Linked DNA regions of Homo sapiens: region 1 is linked to region 2. Evidence: promoter capture Hi-C in 16 types of primary human blood cells and fetal thymus (Javierre and others, 2016). All regions are on one chromosome and are shown on one strand. The core of a region is centred on a gene start or on the middle of the fragment in contact, and the rest is flanking DNA. Distances in the headings are between cores, read along the strand shown. Region 1 has its middle 110 kb from the start of RPS6KA2. Region 2 holds the start of SFT2D1 (SFT2 domain containing 1).

Region 1 (2,793 bases), core at 259-2,758, 390 kb before region 2:
TCCCATCACCCCCACATGAGACCGTTTAGTTGCGGGAAAACAAGCTTAGGACTCCCACTGATTCTACATGATGGTGAGTTCTATAATTATTTCATGATATATTACAGTGTAATAAGGATAGGAATAAAGTACACAATAAATGTCATGTGCTTGAATCATCCTGAAACTGTCCCCCACCCTCATCCATGGAAAATTATCTGCCACAAAACCAGTCCCTGGTGCCAAAAAGATTGGGGACTGCTGCCCTAAATGGAGACTAGTCCGCCATGAGAGTATTGTCAATTCCTACTATAGATGTTCACGTTGTTTCAGTTTTTTGTTTTGTTTTGTGTCACGTTGTTTGCTTTTGCAAATAATTGCTATAAACATATTTCCTTGTTGATGGGTGCAGAAGTTTCTCTGCAGCACAGCCTGAAGCGGAGTGGCTGGGCAGGAGGATGCCCCTTCCAGCTCTTCTTATCCTGCCAAAGCTTCTCCAGCATGGACACGCTTAGGGCCTTCTCAGAGTTCTCCAAGTTTGATGGAAACTTAATCCAAGATGGTCTTTTTGTGAATGATATAATTCAGAAATTGGATCTAAATTCAGTGGCAGTGCAAGGCTATAGACATAAAGGTTTACAGTTTCTAAACTGAGACTTCTTTCTGACTGAATAATGTTTCACTGATTGCCATAACAAGAGGATAGGAACTTTCAAAATCTGTGATATTTTCTCATTCTGTATGTGAAAACACTGTCATGGTAAAGGTGAGGATGTTTAACATTTTATGAGACAAATTTATAAAATATTTAAGTACCCCCAAAGGAGGAAGTGATTTATAAATAAAGCAGGGCACTGCTTAGCACCAGTTCCATGGTCTTAGGTATGCCAGCCTCAGCCACACACGCTCCCTCTCATGTTGAATAAGGCACATTGTCACAGGGAAAATCAGCACGCCCCCAGTGACTCTTGCAGTGCTTCAGGCCCCACAGACCTGTGCTTAAATTCATTGACTTTCTTAACACCCCTAATGAACAATGGCTGAGTGTCTTAATTGGGACATGAAAGAAATGATTGCCGGGAACCTCCTAATTACTTCACCAATATCAGCCGCTGCTTGTGAGCACAGAGTAATTATATACCATTGGATGGTAAGATGGTGATGGCTTGCTGATAGCTTACGTTTATTTCCTAGCACCTGAATATGGAAAAGAGGACCTATTGCTCTTCCGTTTGGGTAGGTGGCCCTTAGGGAGAAAATCTTGAGTTGAGAATTCATGTCAGTATAAACCCTTACTCCAAAGGGTCGATGTCAACATCTTAGACCCCTGCTAAGGAGAGAAACAGGTATACGAGGCAAGAGTGCTCGGGTTCTGCTAATGGGAGTTATAAACTAGTAAGAAGAGTGAGAATTGCTGCTAGCCATGAATCCTAAGCTCCTGCCAGGAGCCCTCGGCCCCCTTGCCCCTCAGGGGCCATACCTAACTTTCCTCTCTCCCCTCAGGGCCTGTCCCAACCTCTAAACAGGTGATCTCATATCCTATTGTTGGGGAAAATTGAAGCAATCTATCAGCTTACCTCAACTTCCTGCCTCCCTCTTACCAATGTCCCTTCGCTTGCATGCACCTTTGCTTTTGGAGGTCAACACCCCTCAGTCCTCTGTTCCCACACCCTAGCAGTGATCCTACTCCACACCCTACAGTTTCCTTAGAAATCTCAGTTTTTCATTTTACCATTTCTCTTTCTATTGGTTTACTCTGTTCAGCCTGTAAACCTGCTCATATCCGCTTTATAAACAGAAAAACGCAGAAACCTTCCTTTTACTTCTCTCTTCCTCTTCTCTCCCAAACAGTTTAGGGATGGCACCTACCAGGGCAGCCTCCACTTCCCCACTTAGAGTGAGCTCCGGAACCCGCTGAAATGTGACCTGTGCCTGGGACATTCCATGGAAACTGTCCACGAGGGATGCTAGTGACCTCCGTGTTACCAAACCTTTTTCCTAAAGAGACTGGCACTGGCTTCCATACATACATGCTACAAGATAAAATTAAGATTATCAGACGAAGAAAATGAGATGAGAAGAAGGAATATAAGATCCGAATGAGGAAAGATCAGAAAGGTCAGCCATGGGGTTAGTACCCAAAACTCGTACTGTAAGGGTCCCTATGTCTTTTTGGGAGTAGATCCTGCCCTCGTTGGCCTCTAAATTTCCTGGACGACAATGCAAAAGAACATTCCAATTAATTCAAGGATGAGTTCCAAGACATAATAAACTGATCAAGACGGCCAACACCACTGCTGTTACTGACAGTGGCGGCATCAGTCCTGCATGTCCATAAAGGGTCTGTGACTTTGGGAACAGTGCCGTCCACAGGACTCTTGCAGCCTAAGGCTATTAGGCTTTCAAAAGTACTCCCATTCTGGCCGATAATGTGACATCCAAGTATAATTTGATATCATGTTCTGAAGGCTCAAAATGATGTGCAATGGTTTGGCATGGCCCTGAGTACAGGGTAGGCTCGATCCACAGGGGGCAGAGCATCTCACCCTTAGGCTCGTGAAAGCTTCTGCAAAGAGGGTCCCAAACCTCCAGAAATCCGATGCAAAACTGGGCAAATGCATAAGTGTGCACCCCTGCCTCCCACCCTGCACCCCAGCCGCTCCGGTTCCTCATTTCCTCTAAGCCAGCAGGCTTCACTTCAGGTCTTTTGTTTTGTTGTGACTTACTTTTATTTGAACACCAACTTGAACCAGAGCAGCCTTCACTTTGGCTGTTCCCTGCCTCCTTCCACCAGACTCAGCCTCCGGTGGCCTT
Region 2 (2,700 bases), core at 9-2,508:
TATTCTATAGATTTTACAATCTATTTTCTGACCTTTTAAAGTTAAGGACATAAGGATAAGACTTCTCATATTAGTATGAACAGGCCACATAGAAATATCTTCTGCCTAAAGGAAAAGGATGCTGAGCATTGGACCGTTTCATCACAAGAAGGCGCGACTTGCTTTCCTAGGGTTCCTGTGGTATTTGTTTTTATCTAATTGAGTTTAGATAAAATCTCTACTGAGGCAGTAGGATGGACAATGAAACTTTTTGAGGATCCACCTTTTAACTGAAAGATTTTAGGGAGGAAATGGAGTGGGCAAAGTAATCAAAAGAACAGGCATTCTCATTACCATCTTACCAAGCCTAGAAGCAAACAGAAGAGCAAAACCTATCACTTAATGACTTCTGGAGACCATATTAGACAGGCAGCCCTGATTTTTAATCTCCTTTCTTAGCATGGTGGAAAATGAGAGAGAGAAAAATGCCACTTCCCCATTTCTTAGTGTTTGTTCATCCAGCACGAGCCGGAGAACAGTAAACGCTTGTTCAATGGTTTCACTGTTCACACAAAACTGGAAAAATGGGTTGCATTAGCTATTCCTTTTATAAATAAGATTTCACTCTTTCAAACTCCTAGCTGACCAGTGAACTGAGTAAAGAAATAGCTCTCACAAGGGCAAAGGAGTGAGGCAGCCTCTTGCTATTTCTCCTGAGACGGTCTGAAATACAGCTCCTCGCTTTAATCCTGAGGCAGGTGTTTGTGTCTCCGGATGAGGACACCCAGCTGGGAAGGCTAGCGACGCCCCCAGGGCCACCTCATGGGTGGCAGGGCGCTCTTCGGAGCACGGCCACCTGCCCGCAGGAGCCCTCCGCTCTCCGATTCCAGGCGAGGGGAGGCGCATTCGGGGCCTCGACTTCTGGGAACCCGGGGTGCCGCGGACCCGCCCAGCAAGGCCCCTCGCGGGGCCCGGAGGACGCCAAGTGCAGGGTTCAGTGGTCGTGCCCCAGTCGGGTCTACACTCAATGGCTGTGCGCCAGCTGTGGGCAGGGGGTCCACACCCGCGCTGTGTCCCCGCGCGTTACCACGGCGCACCTCGCGGACAGTGGGAAGGGATAGCCCCACCATCAGCGCCCACTCCGCGGACTTCACGGACCACTACCGGGTCCGAGAGAAAGGCTGGTGAGCATGCGCGCATTGCTACGGCGGCCGCGCTGACGCACAGGAAGCGGGCGGGACCGGACTTCCGGCTGGTCTGTGGGGTTTCGGGTTCGGGGTTTCCTGGTGGGCGTCAGGGGCAGGCAACAGAGTGGCGGCCGCTACGGCCCTGTAACAGGGCCATGGAGAAGCTGCGGCGAGTCCTGAGCGGCCAGGACGACGAGGAGCAGGGCCTGACTGCGCAGGTAGCGAACTTGCGCCCTCGTCCAGTCCCGGGGCTGCCCGCTGGCCCCGGCCGCACTGAGGACCGGCCGAGCGGGTGGGGTGGGTGCGAGGCCGGGGGTCTGGGACTCCTCTGCCCGGCTGGTTGATTTAGGAGGGCTCCGCCTGCTTCCTGGGTAGAATTTGAGAACTTTCCAGTTTTCCATGCGGTCTACTTAAACCCACTTTGAGGCCCCCCCCCGACTCTCCCATCTGGCCTTCTGACTTAGGAATCCGCTAACGTCTGCCCTCGCTTTCCCAAATAATCCATCGCTCCCACGTACTATTTGGTTTTCTGAGCCTGGTGCGGGGTCTGGCCTCGGGCTGTGCAGCGTAAGTAGCTATGCAGGGCATTTATCCTGCAAGCTGCAGTGAGCCGAGACCCTAAAGCTTGTTGCATCTGTTTGTCTTTGGAGGTAAAGGTGGTGTTATGTGTGTGTTTGCTGGGGGGTGGTCTTTTGGAAATAGGGAGACTGGAGGAAAAATAAACAGGACATTGGTAAGTGAAATAATATTGAATTAAAATTTTTCTGTTAAGGCAGTGAGCCCTGGTAAGAGATTTTTTTTTTTTTCTTAATAAAAGCCCTTGTGTCTGCGCCTTACCAGCGAGACTTGATAAGGGTTACTTCCTCCAGCAAGAAGGTTAAAAGTAGCAGTGGAGCAGGAACTGCGGTGTAAGTTTTTTTGTTATTGCATGCGATTATATTGCACGTTATTGTGTGCTGTCGCAGAAGTTGGACGTTTAAAATTGAATTGTATTTCATAAGGATCTTCTATTTGTCTCTCCTGACTTCCTTGTCATTATACTTACTCAGCACTTGGTGTGGGTAGAGTTCTGGGCTACAGTTTTGGGTTCAGAGAGTGTAAGACAAGTATCTGTTCTCATTGCACTCTGTAACTCTGTATATTACCACAGCCACATGTGGCCAATGAATTTTTTTTTTTTTTTTTTTTAGATGGAGTCTTGCTTTGTCGCTCAGGCCTGGAGTGCAGTGGCGTGATCTCGACTCGCTGCAACCTCTGCCTCCCGGGTTCAAGCAATTCTCCTGCCTCAGCCTCCTGAGTAGCTGGGATTACAGGCACCTGCCACCATGCCCTGCTAATTATTTTGTGTTTTTAGTAGAGATGGGGGTTTCACCATGTTGGTCAGGCTGGTCTCGAACTCCTGACCTCAAGTGATCCGCCCACCTTGACCTCCCAAAGTGCTTGGATGACAGGCTTGAGCCACTGCGCCTGGAGCAATTAAATTTAAATTAATTAAAATTAAATAAAATTTAACATTCAGTTCCTTAGTCACAGC

The links. The method cuts DNA at HindIII sites, captures the fragments that hold promoters and counts their contacts. A CHiCAGO score of 5 or more calls a contact.
Region 1: a contact is called between a fragment that was not itself captured here and the fragment with the promoter of SFT2D1 in region 2, in 1 of 17 cell types (non-activated CD4 T cells). The highest score is 5.4, in non-activated CD4 T cells.

What each region holds. Positions count from the first base shown.
Region 1 is chr6:166,732,807-166,735,599 of GRCh38, reverse strand. It overlaps a transcript of RPS6KA2 not described here. Among named protein-coding and RNA genes, the nearest start is that of RPS6KA2, 110 kb to the right of the region's middle. The HindIII fragment of the contact is 2,072 bases long and covers 473-2,544 here.
Region 2 is chr6:166,341,103-166,343,802 of GRCh38, reverse strand. SFT2D1 (SFT2 domain containing 1) reads left to right here and starts at 1,258. Exons shown (of 8, transcript NM_145169.3): 1 at 1,258-1,384. The coding sequence starts at 1,322. LOC100289495 (a long non-coding RNA gene) reads right to left here and starts at 1,172. Exons shown (of 2, transcript NR_040022.1): 1 at 656-1,172. RefSeq lists an enhancer at 433-1,326 and a silencer at 1,388-1,547. The HindIII fragment of the contact is 4,850 bases long and covers 1-1,792 here.